Regions from separate parts of the Homo sapiens genome. Here regions 1, 2 and 4 are each linked to region 3. Evidence: promoter capture Hi-C in 16 types of primary human blood cells and fetal thymus (Javierre and others, 2016). All regions are on one chromosome and are shown on one strand. The core of a region is centred on a gene start or on the middle of the fragment in contact, and the rest is flanking DNA. Distances in the headings are between cores, read along the strand shown.

What was found. The method cuts DNA at HindIII sites, captures the fragments that hold promoters and counts their contacts. A CHiCAGO score of 5 or more calls a contact.
Region 1: a contact is called between a fragment that was not itself captured here and the fragment with the promoter of LTN1 in region 3, in 3 of 17 cell types (total CD8 T cells, naive CD8 T cells and naive CD4 T cells). The highest score is 9.8, in total CD8 T cells.
Region 2: a fragment that was not itself captured here is called in contact with the fragment with the promoter of LTN1 in region 3 in 2 of 17 cell types (total B cells and non-activated CD4 T cells); the score reaches 5.9 in total B cells.
Region 4: a contact is called between the fragment with the promoter of MIR155HG here and the fragment with the promoter of LTN1 in region 3, in 2 of 17 cell types (total CD4 T cells and non-activated CD4 T cells). The highest score is 7.6, in total CD4 T cells.

The regions. Positions count from the first base shown.
Region 1 is chr21:25,589,257-25,592,746 of GRCh38, forward strand. All of the region lies in intron 8 of MRPL39 (mitochondrial ribosomal protein L39), which reads right to left. Among named protein-coding and RNA genes, the nearest start is that of LINC00515, 7.8 kb to the left of the region's middle. The HindIII fragment of the contact is 1,999 bases long and covers 1,242-3,240 here.
Region 2 is chr21:25,751,053-25,754,247 of GRCh38, forward strand. GABPA (GA binding protein transcription factor subunit alpha) reads left to right here. Exons shown (of 10, transcript NM_002040.4): 5 at 937-1,182. Among named protein-coding and RNA genes, the nearest start is that of GABPA, 18 kb to the left of the region's middle. The HindIII fragment of the contact is 399 bases long and covers 1,228-1,626 here.
Region 3 is chr21:28,991,579-28,994,855 of GRCh38, forward strand. LTN1 (listerin E3 ubiquitin protein ligase 1) reads right to left here and starts at 1,299. Exons shown (of 30, transcript NM_015565.3): 1 at 1,186-1,299. The coding sequence starts at 1,227. It overlaps LOC105372766 (a long non-coding RNA gene), which reads left to right and starts at 1,525. Exons shown (of 3, transcript XR_007067835.1): 1 at 1,525-1,553; 2 at 1,992-2,103; 3 at 2,204-2,603. RefSeq lists enhancers at 1,104-1,213, 1,524-1,583. The HindIII fragment of the contact is 7,723 bases long and covers 1-2,453 here.
Region 4 is chr21:25,560,287-25,563,547 of GRCh38, forward strand. MIR155HG (MIR155 host gene) reads left to right here and starts at 1,859. Exons shown (of 3, transcript NR_001458.3): 1 at 1,859-1,971. RefSeq lists an enhancer at 1,394-1,443 and silencers at 1,824-1,913, 1,924-2,203. The HindIII fragment of the contact is 13,141 bases long and covers 1-3,261 here.

The DNA.
Region 1 (3,490 bases), core at 991-3,490, 3.4 Mb before region 3:
ACAGCCAGTTTCAACATTCTAGAAGTCATTCTTCAAATCATAAGCAATCACAAGAAGACAGTCATTAAAAACCAACTGTGACATCTTCACACTGAAATGGCAGAAGCAGAGGATTCATCAAGTTACCCTAAAGAATAAGTAAAACCTAACAAAGACAATAGTAAATTTTTTTTTTTTTTGAAATGGAGTTTCACTCTGTCGCCCAGGCTGGAGTGCAGTGGTGCGATCTCAGCTCACTGCAACCTCCGCCTCCCAGGTTCAAGCAATTCTCCTGCCTCAGCCTCCCAAGACAATAGTAAAATTTAAACTCAATTTCCTTAGTCCATAACAACCTCCTGTAGCAGAGGATTATCAGAATGCATTAAAGAAAACTGTGCAAAGTGTATCATGACCACATCAATTTTATTAGGTCAACTGAAAGTGGTAACAAGACATATGGGCAGGCCAGTGACTACTCCACACTGAATGAGCTCATAAAATCTATAATAAAAGGTAAAATTAATAAATATCAACATACAAACCCTTCCAGGGAAAGAGCTGACTGGTATGTTTAAAGGGAAAACCATGCCTGACTCAGGCGGAATGAACTGCTGGTGCAGAGACCTTAAGCTGTGGCTGGAATATAGTGAGTGAGGAAAGGAGTGGTGTTAGATAAAGTCAGAGAAGCAGGCAGGGACCAGATAATGCAGGGCTTTGTGAGACAGGGTAAAGAGTTGGGATTTGTTCAAGGGAAGCCATTGGAAAGTTTGGGGCAGAGGAAGTACATAACAGATTGTGTATTAAAAAGATCACTTTGGCTACTAAGTGGAAAATGCACTGTAGATGGCAAGAGTGAAAGCAAGGAAGGTGAGTGAAAACAAAGAGGAACTTGGATAAGGGAAGTAGTAGTAGATGAGATGTTATAAGGTGCATAGATTCAGAATATGTTTCAGAGTTAAAAGTTGAAAGGACTTGCGGATGGATGGGCTGGGGCATGGCTATGAGGGGAAAAGAGAATCAAGGATTACCTTAAACAACTAAGGAAACCAGGGGTATCCAATCTTTTGGCTTCCCTGGGCCACACTGGAAGAAGAATTGTCCTGGACCACACATAAAATATACTAACGCTAATGACAGCTAATGAGCTAAAAAAAAAAAAAAATCGCAAGAAAACCTCATAATGTTTTAAGAAAGTTTACAAATTTGTGTCTCATTCAAAGCCGTCCTGGACTGCATGCAGCCCATGGGCTGTGAGTTGGACAAGCTTGAGTTAAAGGATGATCCCATTTTCTGAAATTGGGAAGGCTAGGAAAGGAAGCAGGTATGTGGAGAAAAGTCAAAGTCAAATGTATAGGAGAGGTGTGCTAAATTTTACAAAATGAGAGGGATGAAAGAAGATATAAATAAATAAGAAGATACAGTAAGTTCATAGACTGGAAACCTCAACATATTAAAGATGTCAATTCTCCCCAAACTGCTATACAGGTCTAATGGACTTATCAGAATCTCAGGAAGACTCTGTTGACATTGAAAATATTATCCTAACATTAAATGGAAACTCAAAGAGACTAGAAGAGTTAAAACAATTTTGATTAAAAAACAGTAACAAGGGAGGAATTACTCTACCTGATTTCACAGCCTATTTAGAGCTACAGTAATCAAGACTGGGTGGTACTGGTAGAGAGCTAAACATATGTGATCAATGGAACAGAATAGAGGACCCAAAAATAGGCCTACATAAATATGCTCAGCTAATTTTTAACAAAGATGCAAAAGTAACTCAGTGGAGGAAGAGTGGCCTTTTCAACGAATGGTGTTGGAGCAATCTGACATCTATAGCCCACAAAAAAAAAAAAAAAAAAAAAAAACCTAAACCTAAATCTCACACTCATAGAAAAATTAACTCAAAATGGACCACAGATTTAAACAAATGTAAAACTCTAAAACTTTTAGGAGGGAAAAAAAAAAGGAGAAAATCTTTGGGATGTAGGACTGGTCAAAGAGTTCTTAGAATTAACCCCAAAAACATAATCTATAAAAACAAAAATGTTATCAAATTTTAATAAACTAGTTTCATCAAAATTAAAAACTTCTCTGCAAAAGGCTGCTCAGAGAATGAGAAAACAAGCCACATATACAAACACAAGGTACAGACAGAAAAAGAGAGAAATCTGAAAACTACATATCTAACAAAAAACTAGTATCTACAACATATAAAGAACTCTCAAAACTCAACTGTTAAAAAGTAAAACAATCTAATTAGAACACTAGCAAAAGACATAAACAGACATTGCACCAATGAAGATATACAGATGGCAAATAAGTACATGAAAAAATGATCAATACCATTGGTCAACAGAGAAATTCAAATTAAAACTACAATGAGAAATCACTACAAACATATCAGAATGACTAAAACAAAAAAAAAAGTAGTGACAGCATCAAATGCTAGTGAGGATGTGGAAAAACTGATCACTCACACATTGCCAGTGGGAATGTAAAATGGTACCGTCACTCTGGAACACTTTGGTTGTTTCTTAAAAAACTAAACATACACTTATCATATGACCCAGCAATTGCACTCCTGGGTATTTATCCCAGAGAAATATTCACAAAAACCTGCACACAATGTCACAGCAGCTTTATTTGTAATAGCCAAAGACTGAAAATAACTCAGATGTCCTTTGATGGATGAATGGTTAAACAAACCATGATACATCCAGACCAAGTAATACTACTTAGCAATAAGAATGAATGAACTACTGATATACTCAATGTACTCGGATGAAATCTCCAGAGAATTATACTGAGTGAAAAGTGCCAATCCCAAAAAATTACATACCGTTTGATCCCATTCATACAATATTCTTGAAGTGACAAAATTATAGAAAAGGAAAACAGATAAGTAGTTGGCAGGGGTAAGCAGGCAGGGTAATGGGGGCAACAGAGGGAAGTGGCTGTAAATGCGTGTGTCTATAAAAGGCCAACATGAGGGATCCCCGTAGTGAAGGAATTGTCCTGTATCTTCATTGTATCGCTGTCCATACCCTGGTGGTGATACTGTATTTTAGTACTGCAAGATGCTACCATTGAGGAAACCAAGTAAAGGTACATGGGATCTCTCTATGTCTTATAACCCAATTATCTCAAAATCAAAAATTTAAATAAAAAGATTAGCAAGGGGTGGGAGCAATGTGGAAAATGTCAGGCTTCGGGTCATGATGGATCATTAAAATTAGAGGGAAGAGCATGCCAAATTTAAGCTTAAAAGGCATTCCAGGAAGTCTTACCAATACGCACTCTAATACCCCCTCTGTCAATGTACCCTCACCTATGCTAACTTGAAATTTTTAAATGCTATGTCAATTTAATTTTTTCAACTAATGTTTCTTTTGTAATTGTATATTTACACCCTGGGCAACTTTGTTTTTAATCATAAACCTGAGTTTATAAAATATTAGTGTCACATAACTTAAGAAAAATTAAAAGTTTATATTCTTCAAACTGGTAT
Region 2 (3,195 bases), core at 177-2,676, 3.2 Mb before region 3:
GATTCAGTAAGAAACAGAAGCAGTTATGTAATATGACAGTGTCTTAGAGCTGTCATTTTAGTCTGAGGTTATTTCGTAAAGGGCTAATTCCATTTTGAATAGATAAATAAAAGTATATCTTATAGAGAGTACTGCACACATAATGAAATAACTGTTTTTATGGCATAATTTCTTGGCTTAATTATAATTTAATTAGGTATAATCAAATTATAATTTAATAGTTTAAATGTGTTTTAAACTATCCAGAATTAAATCAAAATCAGAATTTTGATTTAATTCTGGATAGTTGAGGAGCCTTTGTATTAATAAATTATTTATTTTTATTTTTTATTTTTTCCATAGGAATTACAGTTCTTAACACCTTTATACTAGGAGCTTAAAATATTCAGGATTTGGGTTTTTCTTCATCTCATTTAAAATGAAATTTAGAATTTAATGGTTAATTTAATTTAGTAAATTTGGCATAATTTTTAACACATCTACTTTGTCCTTTAAAAAGAAAAACTGAGTCAGTAAATAATAATTTTAATTTGCTTAGAAGGATTTTTTAAAATTCCAAGGATAGGTAGCTGCTCATTTATACTCTGCCTAGTCTAATTTTTATTGTTTCGTATTGGTAATTTTTATTTTTATTTATCTATTTATTTTATTGTGGTAAGAACTGGTACTTCTTTTTTTCTAATGATGTTTATAGGTAGGGTTTGTGTGTGTGTCTTATTTTTTATAAAATTATTTTAAACTTGTAGAAAAGTTGCAAGACTAGTAAAAGAATTCTTGAATATCCTTCACCCAGATTCCCCAAATGTTAACTTTTACTACATTTGCTTTATTCGATGTAGTTTTTCTCTACCATTTGGGAACATATAAACTAAATTATTTTTTGGTGACTTCTGCGTTTTCATTTAGATTTACAATTTTTTTTTATCCACTGTTCAGGAATTGAACCAAAGTTAAACATCCTTGAAATTGTTAAACCTGCGGACACTGTTGAGGTTGTTATTGATCCAGATGCCCACCATGCTGAATCAGAAGCACATCTTGTTGAAGAAGCTCAAGTGATAACTCTTGATGGCACAAAACACATCACAACCATTTCAGATGAAACTTCAGAACAAGTGACAAGATGGGCTGCTGCACTGGAAGGCTATAGGAAAGAACAAGAACGCCTTGGGATACCCTATGGTAATAAAATGCATAATTCTATATTGGGTAGAATAATAGGAATTAAGCTTGACATAGAAGACACTAGGGTAAGTTATAATCTATTTTACATGTAGAGTTATTAGGATGAATGTTGATTTTCTGTATCTCTCTTTTAATTGTAACGCACATTTAAGCTCATGTGGTGGACAAATTCTGTCCTGCGTGCAGGAAATACAAAGAAGTCTAAAAAATTTCTGCTCTTAGGGTGTTGAGAGTGTAGTTGAAGAGAGAGAAGATAGATGAAAAGAGATGATTGCCATAAAAGGTAACATGTTTTTAAACTGCCAGTAACTCTTGTAGAAGTATGCTATTGGAATCTCAAAGAGATCATAGTTGCCCTGAGGGAAAGCTGAAAAGAGTTTATTATAAATAAGATACCATTGGGCAGAGAAAGACATTTAAGACAGGAAATGTTATGTGCAAAGCTTAGACCTGGGGGTATGCATGAGTAGTGAGAAAATGGAGTGGTTAAGGAGTTACTCTGTAGCATTACAGAACTGTTTTTGATTGATGAAAATGATAATTGAAAAATGAATATGGTGGCAATATATGGCATAAGTTGGAACAGGTAGAGACTAAGTGAAGGGAAAACAGGAGCATATTATTATAGTTGTGACTGGATGATAATGTCTACATTAGCCCAGACTCCAGATGATTTCTTTGGGAGTAGCAAGGAAAAAGTGGATGAAAACAGTGATAGGACTGAGCAGATTGACAGATTTTATGAGGGTAGAGAGGGAAGATACAAGTATTGATCTAACTTCTCAAGCTTCATCTTGGTGACTAAAACAGTAATAATCTTGATAAAAATTGGTTCCATCATCATTACATATTTAGTGAACACTACCGTACACCAGGCACCATGTTAAATGCTGGGCTTAATTAAGATGGTGCACTATGAAGAGCATGCTTTCAAAAGCCCAGTTGGGGAAGTAGAGAAGTCTGGTATAGGAAATGTTTTTTTCAAGAGAAGGTGGATAGCACTTGATTTTGATGTGGAAGTTTATATTCAGCTGGAGGTTAGCCAGAAAATGGTTTCAGTTATATAAGATTTGGGCTGGAGACAAAGATGTTATATGAGACTCATTCCCACTGAATTTATATTTGAAGCTATAAAAGTCTACGTAGTCCCTGATGGAAAGCGAGAAATGGAAAAGAACACACAACTAAAGGCATATACACTTGACCCTGTAAACATTTAGGGTTGGAGAAAAGGGAGACAAGAAATAACTGAAGAGACAGAAAGAAAGTAATAACTTATATGTATAGTGTCACTGAAATTGAGGGGAGAGTTTGGATGGTCAAGACTCTCAGATGCTGCTGAGAAAGTCAAAGAATGCTGACTGATATCTATTAAATTTGATGATCAGAGGATTATTCTTAAATTTAGACAGAAGTAACTAGAGTTGGCGAGACAAAACAGAATTATAAGAAATAGATATCTTAGAAATGGGGGCAGATGAGGAAGAATGCTGGGGTAACAAATAAATAATACTGATCTTCCAAGAGTTGGCGGGGACCTGAGTGTATTTGTAAATGAAACAGTATTGTCGGGTTTTTGTCCTTTTTTTATTTTTTATTTTTAGAGACAAGGTTGTACCTGGGGAGCAGGGCTGATGACAGAAAGGCTGTATTGTAGAACCACTGTTTTCCCTAGGACATTTTTTTTCTTTCTTTAAACCAAACCTAAAAGATACACAGTAAATGAGAGAGCTTACCCATGGAACTGAAAGAGAGCTATGGAACCAGACAGCTAATGTAGAATTTCAGTCTGTCCCTCCGCTGCCCAGTACTGTAGCCACTAATCACACGTCAGCACTTGAAGTGTCTCTGGTCAAAATTAAGATGGGTTGTAAATGTAAAAATACCCATTAAAAGAAAAAGTATAAAATCTTTTCTAATTTTTTATATTAATTACCAGTTGAAATAACATTTGGAACATTAAGTTAAAATAAATTCATTATTAAGATGTATTTGACCAACTTTTTAAAT
Region 3 (3,277 bases), core at 49-2,548:
TAGGTAAAGAGTATATGGGATGTCGTTCTAATATTCTTGCAACTTTTCCTCATAAGAACTTTTCAAATATAAAACATTTGAGAAAATCTGTTAAATAAAAAACATTAAAAGATGCAAGTAAAGTGCTTAGCACAGTAACACAACAGGTTGCTATAATTGTTAATACTGTTATTATCTTCCAAAACAGATTAAGTGACAGATCTAAGAAAATGTGACATTGAAATCACTAGAATTAACTACATCAGAAACAGGAAAAAAAAGCATTCTCATAAAATTGGACTGTGCTATAATAAATCTAACACCATAAAAAAATACCATTACAAAACCCCTCATCGTGTAGTTTTACACGAATCCACTTTAAGGTCGTCCTTAAGCAAGTACTTAGTGAGCGTCTATTAGGTGCCAGTCTGTTCTAGGTTCCGAGGATAAAAACATTTGCTTTCAAAATACTTACGTCCTAGTGAACCAAGACAATAAATGTCATAAATACAATGGAGTAAAATAAAGTAGGAAGAACATGGGAGTGGGGAAGGGCTACCAAGAGGGTGATCATGGGAGACCTCACTGAGGTGTCGAGAGCAAAGTTTGGAGCCACCTAACTGAAGAGCGTTGGGAGCCGGCCAGGTAGTCAAGGCACAGTGAAGAGATCAGTGTGGCTGGATGAAGTAAGCCAAGAGGAGGGAGCTGAAGATGGGACTGCAGATGGAAAGGGGTAACAGGCAGTCCAGAAACCAAATATACCATCCTAAGAGCTTTAGCTTAGGAGAAGCCACTGTAGGTAGCAAAGGAGAGGCACAATCTGCGGTAACCTCCACAGTGGATTCACTTTAACATTCTCCCAACTCTCCTTCTTCCCAGCGCCGCCCTCCCCCAACCAACCCGCTACCTCGGCCAGATCACCTTCCAGTGAACCTGACACATTATCATTTCTTCATGAATATTATGGGTGTGTGCTCGGATGAGGACAGCTCTGGCATGGTACATCTTTTCTCTCACGATTCCCCAATCTGCTCAGAGATAACACAAACCGCTCTCAGGGACGCACACACAACAGAGAGGTCACACTCGACAGGGAAACACACGCCTCCCTACAGCCGCGCTCCACACACCCTCCAGCAACGCGCTGGGCGGAGCCAGCCGCCTCGAAGCGAGGCTCCCGGGTCGGCCGAGCCAGCCCCCGCTCACCCTCAGGTTCCCTTTAGTTCGCTGCTTGTTCTTCCCGCCCATGGTCGCGGTTGCAGCTGTACTCTGAGCACTCAGACCCCGGTTGACACGTCCGGGACACAACTTCCGGCTTCTGGCGGCGGAAGAGGACACCCTGTAATAACTTCCCCCGGGCCCTTTTCCGCCACCCACCCTGTCCATTTGCTGCCCCACTTCCGCTCCCGCCTCCCGCTGTGTCCCTGACCATCCGCCACCGGAGACGTCACAGCTAAAGCCACGCCTGTCTGAGTGATGTCATTCCTGGCCAATAGGAAGCCAAGCATTGGACCCGTGGCGCCAAATCCTGTCCTCCCCGCTTTCAGAAGCTAGGTTTGTTCCTTGCTTAGAGGGTAGGAAACTGGCGTGAATCATCAGAGGGGCAGTTTCACATAAGGGTAGCATTAGAATGTTATGGTAGAGGCTGTGGGAAGATGGGAGTGTTTTAGACTTCCAACATGATGCAATCATCAGTATCACCTGGGCGTTTTTTAGAAAAGGCCAACTCGGGCCCCTCAGAACTCCTGAATCAGATCCTGCATTTTGACAGTATTCCCAAGTCTTGTTAAAATTTGATTACTGCTGTAGGCACTATTCTCTCTAAATCTCCCCTCCCCGTCCCCTTTTATTCATATTGAAACTGTTAACGTGCAGTTTAGGAAAGAGGATAATGTGGGAGTCCCTATTAAAATTTGAAATGTACAAATCCTGTAACCCATTGATTGTGCGACTCAGAATCACACCAGAGAAACAAGTAAATGTGTGCTGGTTATTGTTTCTTGTCCACGCAGTCACCCTTTTATACTCAACTCCATGTTACTGGGGGGGCTTCTGCTAGATTCCACCAACAGGACGAACAAGAGGGAAACAAAGGCAAGAGGAAGAAGGGACTTGCTCCATTCTGTAAGCATCATGCCAGCAGCAGCTGCATTTTACCGTGGCAGGAGCAATTGCTTTAGCCAAAAGGTGGTTTTAATCTCTATCCTTTTTCCAACAATCACAGAATCAGCCTTATTGCACCCCTCAGAGATCACAGCAGCAGTCAGTGCTCTCCTCAGAGATCTGAATTCTACTTTCATGCGGCCCCTCCCCTGAGCTCCTGAGATAGCCAATGTTTGAGCCACCTCCTCAGAAGTTTGAGCCTCAACACCGTGGGATCCCTTCTTTGTGCTCCAGAGATCCAGTAACAGCCAGCCATCACCCTCTCTTCATTCTTCATAGGCCTGAACTAAGGTGTTCAGGGCCCTCCTTCAAGCTTTTAGGTTCTGATGACTCCAACCACTTCTTTTGTTCCATCCTTTCCTAGCTCTAGGAATGGTAGCTGCTACCTGCAGTGATTACCTGTTACCTTTTATAATTCCTTTTGACCAATTTCCCATATTAAAATATTTCTCAATAACTAATGTGATTTCTGTTTTCCTGACTGGACCCTGATTTTAAAATGCACACAAAAGCCAGGTGCAGTGGCTTATGCCTGTAATCCCACCACTGTGGGAGGCCGAGGCAGGTGGATCACCTGAAGTCAGGAGTTCGAGACCAGCCTGGCCAACATGGCAAAAACCCATCGCTACTAAAAATACGAAAATTAGCTGGGCAGTGGTGGCAGGTGCCTGCAATCCCAGCTACTTGGAAGGCTGAGGCACGAGAATCTCTTGAACCCGGGAGGCGAAGGTTGCAGTAAGCCAAGATCATGCCACTGCACTCCAGCCTGGGTGACAGAGCAGACTGTCTCAGAAAAAAGTCACACAAAGAGACATATTACAGGAGGTTCACAAAAACTTTATAATAGAAAGATAATTGTAAGCAACCTATGTCTATATATTGGAGAACTGCTAAATAAATTATATGTATTCAATAAGCTATTAGGCAACATTTAAGAAGAATAAGGTTTATCTGAACACACATAGGAAGAATTCTAAGACACATTCTTAAATAAAAAGCAAATACCAATATATACAGTATGATACCATTTGTGTTTTTAAAACCCACAACACAATAATATATATATATATATATTTATGCATATATATATAATATAAATACAGAGAATAGGCCGGGTGCGGTGGCTCACGCCTGT
Region 4 (3,261 bases), core at 609-3,108, 3.4 Mb before region 3:
TGGGACCTAAAATGCGGAGGTTTGCACATGACCTGAAATTACTTCCACCACTGGGAGAAGGGAGGATTGAGCAATTTCCTGTTTCTATTAAAGTGCATTATACAAACTTGTCATTCTGGGGATGAAAGGTCACCCTAGAATTGCCTATGGGCAATTTCTTATAGTTCAACCTAGAATGAGAAATGGGAAATTCAGAAAGGCATTGTAGGCATCTGTAACCAGCAGAGGGACGTGCCCCACCTGGGTGGGGACCATGCATCCTTGCCACATGCCCCACTGCACAACTTCCCCAGCTCCTCAACGTCACATGGATCTGGAAAGCAGGGAGACTGGACTACGGAGCCAGCCCTCCAGGGTTGGAACTGAGTTTGAATCTCAGCTTGACTACTTACTAGGATCTAAGGTAACATGTTTAATCTCTCTGTGCTCAGTTTCCTCATCTGGAAATAGAGATTATAATGCTCCTCCCTCATATGATCATAGTGAGGACTGAAAGAGTTAATGCATATAAGGAGTGTTAGGACAGGATCTGGCACATGGTAAATGCTTTATAAGTGTTAGTTGTTATCATCATGATTATTCTTGTTTGAATTATAAGAGAAAAAGCATGTATCTTAAGAATAGAGGGTTTTAAAATGCTCCCAAGTTCCTTAACCAACCTGAGCCATCTGTAAATTAAGTACTATGGGATTTCCAGCTCTGACATGTATTCTGACATGTAACTGGCATCAGTTTAATACAAACTATTCTAAAATGTCTTGTGCCCTTGACAGGGAGGTCCAAGTACTGGATACTTGCAATGCAATCCAGCAGTGGCCCCGTCTTTCTTACAAAAAGGCCCCAGTCACATGTTGATGAGGCTAGATCTATTCCTGTCCTCCTTCTCTTCCCCATATTTCCTTATTCTTCTTCAAGTCTAAACGTTTATTGAACTGAGACCCATGAATGAGTTACTCGACTAGGCTTGTAGGATAAACTTGCCAGGCTTTAGATCTATTTGTTCCTTTCCATCCCCCAAAATCAAATGGCTGCTCCAGGAAAATGTTCCCCTTGTGGCAGGGTCCGGGAGAAAAGAGAGAAGCGACAAAACCAAAAATTAAAACGACCGAAGTCCCATATGCTCCAGGAATATGTCCTGGAGATGGGAGTGGAGGGCAGGGGGAGAATGTTGTTGAGGTCAAAATTTTTGAAGTTTTAAGTCCTATATCTTGACATCCCGAGTATAAATGCGGGTACCAGACACAGTACAAACGTTCTCAAAGCCCAGTTACGTATTCCAAACCAAACGCGGGCTCTTGAAGGGTGATGAGGTAGGGATGAAATCCAGGATCGCCTGAAGACCATTTCTTCCTCTCTTAGGGACCTGCTGGTCTCCAGCTGATTCGGTCCAGGAGGAAAAACCTCCCACTTGCTCCTCTCGGGCTCCCTGCAAGGAGAGAGTAGAGACACTCCTGCCACCCAGTTGCAAGAAGTCGCCACTTCCCCCTCCAGCCGACTGAAAGTTCGGGCGACGTCTGGGCCGTCATTTGAAGGCGTTTCCTTTTCTTTAAGAACAAAGGTTGGAGCCCAAGCCTTGCGGCGCGGTGCAGGAAAGTACACGGCGTGTGTTGAGAGAAAAAAAATACACACACGCAATGACCCACGAGAAAGGGAAAGGGGAAAACACCAACTACCCGGGCGCTGGGCTTTTTCGACTTTTCCTTTAAAAAGAAAAAAGTTTTTCAAGCTGTAGGTTCCAAGAACAGGCAGGAGGGGGGAGAAGGGGGGGGGGGTTGCAGAAAAGGCGCCTGGTCGGTTATGAGTCACAAGTGAGTTATAAAAGGGTCGCACGTTCGCAGGCGCGGGCTTCCTGTGCGCGGCCGAGCCCGGGCCCAGCGCCGCCTGCAGCCTCGGGAAGGGAGCGGATAGCGGAGCCCCGAGCCGCCCGCAGAGCAAGCGCGGGGAACCAAGGAGACGCTCCTGGCACTGCAGGTACGCCGACTTCAGTCTCGCGCTCCCGCCCGCCTTTCCTCTCTTGAACGTGGCAGGGACGCCGGGGGACTTCGGTGCGAGGGTCACCGCCGGGTTAACTGGCGAGGCAAGGCGGGGGCAGCGCGCACGTGGCCGTGGAGCCCGGCCTGGTCCCGCGCGCGCCTGCGGGTGCCCCCTGGGGACTCAGTGGTGTCGCCTCGCCCGGGACCAGAGATTGCGCTGGATGGATTCCCGCGGGCAGAGGCAGGGGGAAGGAGGGGTGTTCGAAACCTAATACTTGAGCTTCTTTGCAAAGTTTCCTTGGATGGTTGGGGACGTACCTGTATAATGGCCCTGGACCAGCTTCCCTGTTGGAGTGGCCAGAGAAGTGTGTAAAACACACTAGAGGGGCAGGGTGGAAAAAGAGACTGCCTTCAAAACTTGTATCTTTTCGATTTCATTTTGAAAAATAACTACAAATCTATTTTAATTTTACAAAGTTAGACTCATAGCATTTTAGATATCAATGTCTTCATTTAACAGAAGTGAAGATGGAGCAAACGCTCAATCAGCGTCTGTATTTATTCGCTCCTGTTGTGCCAGGGTGCGTTTTTGCCGAGCGGTTGCCTTTCTTTACTCACAAAACCCCCTTGATGTCTGTCCTCCACGTTTTACGAGGGAGAGCCGGATCTTTTGAAGTTTGTATCATCTAAAGCAGGTATATTGGGATGACTATGGATAGAATTTAACCTGAAAACACTGAAGTTGACAGCTGACAAAGATATAAGAATCCAAAGTATGTTAAAAATTAAGGAGCTGAGGCCCACAGAAGTGAAGTTACTTTTCCAGCATCACACAGCAGATCTAGGACCCTGTGTGATTTGAAAAGGCCAAGGTATCTAATGATGCTCATAATTTAGTTTACATTTTGTGTCAAATAGATGAGGTCAAGTGGACATTATGTGTATATTCCAAAGCCAAAATTACTGCTTGTAATATCCATTCATCTCTCCGAAGACGTAGTGCCTCTTTTATATGGCTTTAACCTAATGTATAATCGAAGTGAATTAGGGCAGCCAGACTTTTAATCACAGGACTGATCTTTTAAAAACGGGTATATGTAAAGTTAATTGCTTATCTATGTGAACAGTAATATACACTATAAAAAGTTTTCAAGGCAACTTCCTGCCTGTGGTTTAATTTGATAGTCACAATGATAGGAAATTGGCAGGGTTAGGTGGTGGTATCTACATTTTGCCCATGAGGACTTGTGGCTCAGAGAATTTGAGTTTTTTCTAGTAAGGTCACTAG